Linked DNA regions of Homo sapiens: region 1 is linked to region 2. Evidence: promoter capture Hi-C in human tissues and cell types (Jung and others, 2019). All regions are on one chromosome and are shown on one strand. Each heading gives the region's core, a stretch centred on a gene start or on the middle of the fragment in contact. The rest is flanking DNA. Distances are from core to core; before and after follow the strand shown. Region 1 overlaps GORASP2 (golgi reassembly stacking protein 2). Region 2 holds the start of METAP1D (methionyl aminopeptidase type 1D, mitochondrial).

What was found. The method cuts DNA at HindIII sites, captures the fragments that hold promoters and counts their contacts. A contact is called where the count stands out against the background at its distance.
Region 1: a contact is called between a fragment that was not itself captured here and the fragment with the promoter of METAP1D in region 2, in 1 of the 25 tissues and cell types used here (lymphoblastoid cells).

What each region holds. Positions count from the first base shown.
Region 1 is chr2:170,946,525-170,952,242 of GRCh38, reverse strand. It overlaps GORASP2 (golgi reassembly stacking protein 2), which reads right to left. Exons shown (of 10, transcript NM_015530.5): 2 at 3,813-3,893; 3 at 2,501-2,704; 4 at 1,953-2,039; 5 at 785-915. Among named protein-coding and RNA genes, the nearest start is that of GORASP2, 20 kb to the right of the region's middle. The HindIII fragment of the contact is 5,600 bases long and covers 1-4,350 here.
Region 2 is chr2:171,995,992-172,001,969 of GRCh38, reverse strand. It overlaps METAP1D (methionyl aminopeptidase type 1D, mitochondrial), which reads right to left and starts at 2,017. Exons shown (of 10, transcript NM_199227.3): 1 at 1,961-2,017. The coding sequence starts at 2,000. It overlaps LOC124905590 (a long non-coding RNA gene), which reads left to right and starts at 2,061. Exons shown (of 3, transcript XR_007087296.1): 1 at 2,061-2,291. RefSeq lists a silencer at 2,023-2,322. The HindIII fragment of the contact is 22,489 bases long and covers 1-5,978 here.

The sequences.
Region 1 (5,718 bases), core at 301-2,800, 1.0 Mb after region 2:
TCACTGTCCACAGAATCTCTTCCTCCAGTTTGATTCCATGCTCAGCAGGCACTCTTGTGGTACTAATCTGACCTGAGTATTCTTCTAACTAGAGAGGGGGTATTTTTCTATTGCAAACTGAAAATTTGTCATTCAAATATAGCAGCTTCTCTGCAAATGTAGTTTATATGAGGAAGTGCCTCTTGTAATGAATAAATTTTGAATGCCTCGAATAGATCCTATTTCTGGGCATTTACAAACCTGGGCAATGGACAATGATAATTTGATCAAGTATTGCCCCATATAGGCCAGACTCTTGGATGACACATCTATCTTACTTTTCTCAAACTGCAACAAGTTAGAATACTTGTGGCGAAACATTCAGCTGGAGAATCTCAGGTAGTGTGGGTAAAGATACTGTGAGCAAACGGAAGCTTTTCCTGCCTGCAGCAACTAAGTTATCCTTTTCCCAGCATGGGATTAGAACTTTTGAAAACATGTGGAATGTTTCCAAATTCTAGGCTTTTCTATAATTATGGCTTATGCGCAATAATTTCTCAATTAAAAAGAAATGCTGTTAGCTCTTAGGTTAGTAAAGAAAAGGACTATAGTATATATACTATGTTCCCTAGATATGTACTTTAAAAAAATTGGTTTCAATATTCTAGACTAGCTCTTCCCTTTTTTTTAAGAGGAGTCTTAAAATAAACCAGTAATTTCTTTCAAAATAAAAACAATCAATGTCTGCAACATATCTGACTGGTATGTTTAAGCAGTCATAACTTAGTCTAAAAAATGACCTTACCTGCCTTCTCCACCCCATGCAGAATTTGGTGTAATAATCACTTCTCGACAGTTATCAGTGTCTGTGTTGTACACATACAGTTTCAATGGTTTTGCTTCATGTGTTTCGATAAGGCTGAATAGATCTTCAGACTGCAAAAGTGTCACAGGAGAAAATGTTTCACGTTACCATACTTTGGAACAGTGTGTCTCAAACCTGGCTATCAGAATCACCTGAGAAATCTAAGAAAAAAATACAGATTCTGGGCCCTGCCCCAGACATAAAAATCACAAGCAGGTTTAATTCAATATATTAATTCAAGCAAAGCCTACTTACTACATACAAGGCTTTATGGCCAGTTCCTTAAGATCTAGTTGGCACTCTTAGTACAATTCTTTTACACCCGAGTTCTACATATTCTGCTTTTACTTCCCATTATTAAGACCTGGTTGTCTGGGCACCTCATTTCTCACTCTTTTTTTTTTCTTCTTTTTTTGAGACAGGGTCTCTCTAACTGTTGCCTGGGCTAGAGTGCAGTGGCATGATTTTGCCTCACTGCAGCCTCAACCTCTCAGGCTCAAGTGATCCTTCCACCTCAGCCTCCCAGGTAGCTGGGACTATAGGCATGCACCACCATGCCTGGCTAATTTTTGTATTTGTTGTAGAGACAAGGTCTCACTATGCTGCCCAGACTGGTCTCGAACTCCTGAGCTCAAGTAATTCTCCCATCTCGGCCTCCCAAAGTGCTGAGATTATGGGCATGAGCCACTGTGCCCAGCCTTTTCTCTCATTTTTGATTTAGCAATGTATACTTCCGCTAGCTAAGAGACAAGGAAAAGGATGTAATATAGCTGAGCTAATGCTGTCACTGAACAAAAAGGGGAAGAGAAAATGAAATCAATGAACAATTGAAAATGAGAATTTGATTTAGACTTCAGGTATGCAAAGATTTCTGTATATTACACATAAAATCTGTGCAATTGCCGCACAGTATGTGTTTTTCCTCACAGCTATACCTAATAAGACACCTACCAGATGTTCCATTTAACACCCTGAGGCTTAAGTTATTTTTGATCAGCAAAGACTGAAATTTTAACTCTAAATGCAAAGCATGCAAATATCTTTCTCAACTCAAACCTCAATGAGAAAATTTTATATAGTTCTCACTATGAATAAACACACGAATTACCTCATTCATGACTGTATCTGCTCCAATTATATAATCACTGTGTGGTCTAAGACCTGCCAGTGCTGCAGGAGAATTTGATTCCACCTCCTAGAATGACATAAACACACACCCTAAAATTAATATATATAAAATAATCTTCCAAGGTTTATAGTCCAATTTTTAATTATGTTGATTTTTTAAATCTGTATACTTCTGTCTTGCTAGAGATGTGTCAGATGTCAGAAACTACAGAATATATTTTAAACTTCTGAGCATAAAAATTACATAATATTTAACAAATATTTAAAATATTTTTGTAGCTATCTACTCTAACACATCTTATAATGAATAAATCATTAGAAAAAGTTCTTAAACTTGTACATTTGCTTCTCTTCCTCAACTTAAAAAAAAATTGATCCATACTTAAAAAGCAATGAACGCTGATTTTTGGCAAAAATTGCCTATTAATAATATCCTTACAATCTTATTAAGCCAGAAACAACCATTGTTAAAACATCTTTCCACACTGCTTCATGAACCTCCAGTAACAGTTCACAGTTGATACGTACCAGCACATGCCAAACATTTTCATTTGCCCCATCAAAGCTGCAGAAACGAATGCTCACTCCCAATAAGCCCTGGCCGCCCCACAGGTTACTTGGTGTGACTGAGGTCTCTCGCAGTTCCAATGTTTTGCTGCTATAGATAAGCATCTTTACAGGCTTTTCAACGTTTGCTTTCAGCAGATCCTTAAGAGTGTCATTGTCTTTATTCTGTGAACACATAGAAATCACATTCCTTAGTAAATAAAAATTTAATGTTAGCTTAAGCATCCTATGGCCCTATAAGAGTAATATTAATAATCAACATAAATAAAACATTCAACAAAGGTTTCACCAACATTTAAATTTTCTTCTATGTAAAAGAATGTCAAGAAATTAAGAACTCTTACGTTAGCAACAACTTGAAACTGACTTTTTTCTAATAGCTCATTATGGATTATGGAATTTGCAACCCAACATTATTTAGAATGATCTAGGGCTTCAATGTGTAAAAACAAAATATGCCATAAGAAGTCACATTACTAACGAAGTTGTGATGACTTTGATTATAAAAATCTAAAACATTTACTGGGGTTAACGTTTAATTTTGGACTCTATTTCTAAATACATGCTTTATTAAGAGCTGGATAGAAAAGAAAGTAGAAACAGCATATTAAATATTTCATTTCATAAACAAATAAAGGCCAGATGTTGGCCTTTATTTATATGTCAGAGATGTTGTAAGTAATGAACGAAAACTTAAGACTGTTACGAAAAATTAAACCAACCAAGTGGCTACTGTCCTAAGAATTTGCTGAGATTATATAATTTCTTTATCTTAGAACTTTATTATGGGTAAACTCTAAACAAGGTATAAAAAGTGGTTTTAATTTGGTACTTTGGAGCACATCTCTCTGTCTGGTTCTAATAACATTATTCATATATTGTGAAACTTAGCACCAAGAAAACTGACGAGTTTGAGAGAATGAGATGAGAGAATGAATCTTTCTAGTAATCCATTTGTCAACAACCAACAGAAGTCTGACATCTTTAAAAAGCAATCTTTTACATCTTAATTATTTCTTTCTGCTTATAAAAATTAAATATTTAACATATAAAAGACTCCACTGATTCTAGAGACTTCCCTAAGATAATCAGTGGAGCATAAGGTATAATATTATAGATATTTCAATGTTTATTAATACATGATTATTTCTATAAATTGGCATACTACACATAATGATTGTAACTAATAAATACCCATCTCAGGTCATCTGAAAAATTCCATTTTTGAGAGATTACAAATACTATAGACAAAACTACAGAAAGTTGAACTTACTAATCTTGAACCATTAATAGAAACAATAAAATCAAAGAAAGGCTCCAAACCAGCTCTGTGTCCTGGGGAATTTTCTTGTACCTGCGGAAACAAAAACGACAAAAATAAAAAATGTAAAGCTTAGGTGAAAATTGTAAGCCGAATCTCTCTTTTCAGTAAAAATAGACCAATTTCACTGATAATGAAATACAGTACACGCTAGTTCTCTCATTTCTCTTCATCTCTCCCAGATAATGCCCGTCCAGCTCCCTAAACTCTACCCATTCTTTAAGTTAATCTTCTATTTATATTTTTATTTTATTTCTTTGAGACAGACTCCACCTCTGTTGCCCAGGCTGGAATGCAGTGGCACAATCTCGGTTCACTGCAACCTCTGCCTCCCTGATTCAAGCGATTCTTGTGCCTCAGCCTCCCGAGTACCTGGGAGGACTATAGGTGCGTACCACCATGTCCAACTAATTTTTGTATTTTTTGTAGAGACAGGGTTTCGCCTTATTGCCCAGGCTGGTCCTGAACTCCTGGGCTCAAGGGATCCACCTGCCTCAACCTCCCAAAGTGCTGGGATTACAGGTGTGAGCCACTGCACCGGGCCTAGTTCATCTTCTATATGAGGTTTTCCCTCTGTGGTTCTATTTCTGCACCACTTTCTCCTTTTTTGGGAGAAAGGGGCTAATCCTCTCAGCAATTAGCAGGGGACACAGCAGACAGTCACTACAATTAAGTGACAAATTCAAGCAATTATTCCTTGACTACTACTAGCAAGGCACCACTCAGTTACAAAGCAAATACAGGCACATAGTCACGTATGTCAAGACATTTATAATCTGTTGAGGAATAGGTGAGAAGAGGAAGGGGCAATGGATACACAGCCCTCTAATCACTATAATGTAAAACCAAACAGGCTAAAGGCTATTTGGTATAAGGTTCTAAGGGAAAGATTAATTCTGACTGAAGAAGCTTCAGACATAAAAAGTGATAAGGAATTGTGGTTTAAAAAGAGGGTAGAACATTCAAAGGTAAAGATGGTCAAGGGGGTAGGAAGGACATCTGAAAATGGACAAAACAGTATGAGTAAACACCCGAAGCAGGAGTCTGAAGAATGAGGATCACAGCATGCGTAGCTAGACAACAGAGTAGTGTGGACAGAAATAGAGAATTATAGACTTTGAAAACTAGGATTAACCCAGAAATCCTCTAATCCAGGGATCTTAAATTGAGGTCTGTGGATGGCTTCAGAGAATACTACAGCTCCTGAAATTACACACTATCTTTTATATGAATAAGCAGTTTTCAGGGTGTAAATATTGGTGGCTTTCATCAGATTCTCAAAGGGTTTCTCCATAACTCCAAGAAGGTTTAAAAACCAGGGATTTTGTGCAATTCTTTCATTTGATAGGTTAAAAAAAATTACCATGTCTTGCTTATGATTCCATAGCTGCCTAATGGTGGAAGTTAAACTCAAAAATTCATCTTTTTTATTTTTATTTTTTGAGACAAGAGTCTTGCTCTGTTGCCTAGGCTGGAGTGCAGTGACACAATCTCGGCTTACTGCAACCTCCACCTCCCGGGTTCAAGCAATTCTTGTGCCTCAGCCTCCCAAGTAGCTGGGATTACAGGTGTGCACCACCACCACACCGCCTAATTTTTTTTTTTTTTTTTTTTGTAGAGGCATGGTTTCACCATGTTGGCCAGGCTGGTCTCAAACTCCTGGCCTCAAGTGATCTGCCCGCCTCGGCCTCCCAATGTGTTGGGATTACAGGTGTGAGCCACTGCATCCGGCCAAAAGTCCATCTTGAAACTATTAGTCTAACAAAAGGCTGGAAAGAAGGGGTAGAGCTACATTTACTGGCCTTTAAATGAAAGAGTGAGATTACTTTTAATATAATTCATAGGTTCATAGAATAAA
Region 2 (5,978 bases), core at 768-3,267:
CATGTGCCACCACACCTGGCTAATTTTTGTATTTTTAGTAGAGACAGGTTTCACCATGTTGGCCAGGCTGGTCTTGAACTCCTGGCCTCAAGTGATCTGCCCGCCTTGGCCTCCCAAAGTGCTGGGTAATATTACAGGCATTAGCCACCTTGCCAGGCCTGGCACCCAGATCTTGAGAGATGTAAATTGGCTGTCTTTTCACAAGGCTACACTCTCATGCTGATGTCCATTCCTTCATGCAACCAGTCCAAAATGCTCGCTACATCACCTTCCCCATACACATCTCTCCCCTCAAATCTTCCTGTGGCCCCTTTCTCATCTCCACTAACACTGAAATACTGAAGTCTATTCGATTACCAACCTTCTTCCTCTCTAAAAATATCTTCCTCTTCACTTCTTATTTTTTATTATTTTTATTTATTTTTTTTTTCTGAGACGGAGTCTCGCTCTGTCGCCCAGGCTAGAGTGTAGTGGTATGATCTCAGCTCACTGCAACCTCCACCTCCTGGGTTAAAGCAATTTTCCTACCTCAGTCTCCCGAGTAGCTGGGATTACAGGCATGCGCCACCACGCCCAGCTAATTGTGTATATTAGTAGAGACGGGGTTTCACCATGTTGGCCAGGCTGGTCTTGAACTTCTGACCTCAAGTGAGCCACCTGCCTCGGCCTCCCAAAGTGCTGGGTTTACAGGTGTGAGCCACCGTGCCCAGGCTCTCTTCACTTTTTGTACACACTCATCCTGCACTGTCTCTGCTGAACTTTACACACTGACTTCTATGGAGTGACCACGTCATGCAGTACCGAGAAATGAGTCTTAAAAAAAAAAATTAGAGTCATGTTCAAATGAGCAATCTGCCTCTTACCATTTATGCGACCTTAGTAATGTTACTTAACCTCTCTAGCCTTACTTTTCCCTTCTGCAAAGAGAAAATAATTCCTAACTCACTGGGTTTTTGTTTTTGTTTTTGAGACAGGGTCTGGCTCTATTGCCAAGTCTGGAGTTCAGTGGTACGATCACGGCTCACTGCAGCCTCTTGACCTCCCAGGCTCAAGCGATCCTACCACCTCAACCCCCAGAATAGCTGAGACTACAGGCATGTGTCACCACGCCCGACTAATTTTTAAAATTTTTTGTAGAGACGGGGTCTCATTCATTGAGTTTTAAAAGGAAGCAAGCATATGTAAGGCGCTTAACACAGTATCGTGTACTTAAAAGGCACTTAATAAACAGTAGCTGTTACTATGAAAATAATATTTACCTCACAAAACTGTTCCTACATGCCTGACGCTTAAGTAGCTCCTCAAAATATGATAGTTTTCCTCTTCCCCCGTCCTTGGAAAAACTTTCTAGTTCTTTCCAACAAAGATTCAGCACCTAGTTCAAATCCAACAAAGATTTCCCCAATTCTGCTGCAAAGGCATTTGTATATTTACTAAAATCTCAACACTCACGCAGGATAAAACCTACTTAGAACTACCCAGACATCCTTTCTTATCTTCTTAACTTTAAGTCACTGGAAGAAAACCATCACATTTTGCAAGTCCCCAAAAAGCATGCCTGCATAAAAGCTCTAGGGAAGGGAACCGGGTGTCCAGATGCATTTCAGAATTACCATAGGTTTCCTTGCTCGGCATACAGAATAAATGTTGGTTACACTAATGATACAACCGAAGTTGGGGAAAAAAACTTCAGACAATGGCCCGCAAATCTCAAGGAGTAATTGCGAAAAGATGCCACGTGGTGACGTGTTCTAGGCGGGTGATCAGTGAACAAATTTGTATGTGTGATCCTGTGGTGTGTGAATGTGTCATCGTGTGTGCCTGCGTGTGTTCGTAAACACTGAAAGTACAGTCGTGTGCGCCGAGAAGTCTGAGCGCGGGTGCGCATCCCTTTGGACCCGGGTGCGTACCTAGTGAGCAACCGTGCGAACCCTCACGGGGCTCTCCTCCACGCGCTTACCTCTGCGGACGAGCAGGTGGACGCCACTGGGCGCCGCCATGTTGGCGTCGGTCACGTGGCCGCGAGCACTCGCTCGCCGCCCCGCCCGCTGGAGCCGGCCAGTCGCAGCCCTGCCGAAGCCCTGAGGCGTCGAGGCCGCCCGAGGGGAGCGCGCGTGCGCGCGCGGGGCTGACTGCGGGAGCCCTGGCTGGGAAGCGGCTAGGGCACCCGGGCAAGCAGCAGAACCCGCGGCCGGCTGAGTCCTCTCCAGCCGCGAGAGGCGGGCTCCAGCCGCGGCTCGCGCGCTCGCTCTGAGCCCCCGCGCCCAGGTGGGATGGAAGAAGCCTGTCAGGTAAGCGTGGCATCCAATATTTATAGCATCAACATTTTGGTGCATGGAAACGTGAAGTTGGGCGGAAAAAATAAAGCACAATCTAGTGTTCAACATAGCACTTTGTATCGTCTGCCACTCTGTTGCAAATTATTCCCCTGGATTCAGTTGAAAGGTAAAATTTGGTTCAAAGTCACCAGCTCCCCTTTTGCTGTCCCAGAATCTACATTACTCAGCAGAGACTCCAGACAACACAGGATCTGTGTGTCGCTGCAAAATCTATTCTAGGTACCCCAGTGGGTATGTTCAGGAGACTTCTCTTTCTCCAAGGACGCCTTCTGCTTGGCAGTATTAACTGGAGTCTTAATCCTAAATTTGGAGTTTAAGTATAAAAGGATGACGCCTGCCAATTGCATTGCCAAGAGAAGAAGCCTACAGAAGGCCAATTGTGAATCAGATGAGGGAGCTGATGTATGCCTACTGATGACGGTGCCCATTTTTACCAAATTCACTGTCTCTCTTACCTGTGTTCTGGGGTAGATGCCATCCTGTCATGGACCAGGTGTTATTCATCTTAGTAGCCTCCGTGCCCGGCACAGAACCCGATACCCGAGGAATGTCAGGTGAAGCAATTGAACACTGCATGAAACCAGTCAAACTGAGAATGTAACCGTTTCCAGACTTTAAATGCAGTGAAGATTGATTAGGATTCTCAGTGAATGTGTGTGATGTCTTCTAATTAATTTTTAAGCACTACACACTCAGTGAATAATCTAGACAATTCAGAACAATTCAGAAATAAGGAACAAGTGCAAGCCCCTTCCTCGCCCTCTGTACATACCATAGTCCCACTCCCCAGTTAACCACCGTGTGCTCAATTGAGATCTTTGCCTTTTACACACAGGCAAATGTAAGTATTTTAAATAGAATCATATGACTTGCTTTTTCCATTCCAGTCATCATAGGCATCAAATCTTAGAACACTTAGTTCAGACTTATTCTTTTTAATGACTATATAATCTTGATATTTTTACTTTTAAAGAGAGTGAATGTTGGCATTTCATTAGAGGACACATGCTATAATTCTGGAAAACCTGGTTTTGGATGCTTTTGGGTCACCTTGAAAGATAAAGAGAAGTAATGCTTTCCATCAGGGTAAATAAGATGCACAAGAATGAGAATAAAATGTACTCCTACCTTTTGCAAACTCATTTCAATTCCAGGGAGAGCATTTTTGAATGTGGCAAATCTGTCCTCTGTGTAACTGAGGCCAGCAATCTGAGTGCAGCAAAGGAGCCTGAGAGTTAGCTGGCCACAGAGTCTTAAGCAGTGTACAGAAAAAAGAAATCTAGACATCCCTATTCCTTAAGGCATCAAGCCTAGTTTCAAACCCATCTGAAATAGAACACATGTTCATGTGACTTAACTCAGCCAACCCTTGGAAAATAAATGAATGCTTTATTCCCCTACAACTAAAAGGAAAAGGAAACACTATGAGGACCCAGGTGGCACCAGCAGTAGTGGAATCCAGTGAGGAAATCCTCAATAAGTTCGGCATGGAATGTAGATATCTGGGATGAGCTAGAAATGAAGCAAATATGAACTTGCACAGGTGATAGCTCATCCACTGACCCTGGATCTGGCTTCTCTCATACACATCCTTCTCACCGCAGAAGGGTTAAAAGCTGCCAGCACATGTCCGCCAAAACCATCAACTTATGGGATATAAGCTGGGTGTGGTGGCTCATGCCTGTAATCCCAGCACTTTGGGAGGCGAACGCAGGCAGATCACTTGAGGTCAGGAATTCGAGACCAGCTTGGGCAACATGGTGAAACCTGTCTCTACTAAAAATACAAAAATTAGCCAGGCATGGTGGTGCATGCCTGCAATCCCAGCTACTCAGAGGCTAAGGCGGGAGAATCACTTGAACCTGGGAGGCAGAGTTTACAGTGAGCCGAGATCCTGCCACTGCACTCCAGCCTGTGCCACAGAGGAAGATTCTCTCAAAAAAAAAAAAAAAAGGGATATATACATAGTGACCAACAAGATAAAGGGCTAGATCACTGATATCTAGGATCCCTTGCAATTTTAACATTCTGTGATCTTGAGCATTAGAGTGCTTTTATTTAGATGAGTAACCGCTACTGAGTCACTTCTCTACTCCATTTCTGTCCGTGCTCCTATCTGTGAAATGAAGGTTAATTATATTATGGCACTTCACTGATTTGAATTCTTACCATTAGTCAGATTTTGTACTTAGGATTCTTGAATAAAAAATTGAATAATTCGGCCGGGTGCAGTGGCTCACACCTGTAATTCCAACACTTTGGGAAGCCAAGGCAGGAGGATTGCTTGAGCCCAGGAGTTGGAGACCCAGCTGGGCAACATAGTGAGACCCCGTGTCTACAAAAAATTTACAAACTAGCTAGATGTGGTGGCACATGCATATAGTCCCAGCTACTTGGGAGGCTGAGGCAGGAGGAGCGCTTGAGCCCCGGAGTTTGAGGCTGCAGTGAGCTGTGATTGTGCCACTGCACTGTAGCCTGGGCAACAGAGCAAGACTCTGTCTCAAAAAAAAAAAGTTGAATAACTTTTGAAAACCAGGGTTCAAGAAATAAAGGATAACTTAATACCTTCAGTTTATGTCCAAAAATTCATTCTTGAATGTTAAAATATTTTGATTGTGATTATTATTTTATAGGTCTTTACCTTGATTTTCAAAAGATCATGTCTTATTCACATCTTTTAAAATCTTTTTATTTATAAAAGATATAAATCAAATAAATTCCAATATGCATATTTTTGAAAAACCCATTTTTCCTTCCTCCTTCTTGAACTTAATATTATAGACTTATACCATGAGTGTGTCTAAATTTGTAGTTTGTAATAAAAGTTAAATTATGCAGGTTCTGTAATGTATGTATTGAATTTTTAATTGAATATTTGCATTTTTAAATGCTCTAAGGGATTATGTGACATGAAGTAAATAATTTTTTAAAAATGTTTGTCTTATAGTAAATAACATCATCTTGTAATTTGTCTCACAAGTTTAGATTTATATATATATATATTAGGATTACTATAAGATATTTGAAAACACAGGCTGGGTGTGGTGGCTTATGCCTGTAATCCCAGCATTTTGAGAGGCCGAGGCGGGCAGATCACCTGAGGTCAGGAGTTCAAGATCAGCCTGGCCAACATGGCGAAACCCCATCTCTACTAAAAGATGCAAAAATTAGCCGGGTATGGGGCGGGCACTTGTAATCCTAGCTATTCGGGAGACTGAGGCAAGGAGAATAGCTTAAACCCTGGAGGCGGAGGTTGCAGTGGGCCAGGATGGTGTCACTGCAGTCCATCCTGAGCGACAGAGGGAGACTCTGTCAAAAGAAAGAAAGAAAGAGAGAGAGAGGGAGGGAGGGAGGAAGGAAGGAAGGAAGCAAGGAAGGAAGGAAGGAAAGAAGGAAAGAAGGAAAGAAGGAAGGAAGGGAAGGAAAGAAGGAAGGAAAGAAAGAAGGAAGGAAGGAAAGAAAAGAAAGAGCACAAACCATGAAATAGGGGCCAAGGTGCTTACATATCTCTAATAAAAAGCTGTTTTATGTGAATACGTTGTAAGATTAACTGATATAATGTGGCTGCTGGGGGAAACTGGTACCCCGGGACCACACAGCTTCAGCGCAGTTGTCATCTAGACCCAGGGGCCTCATTCT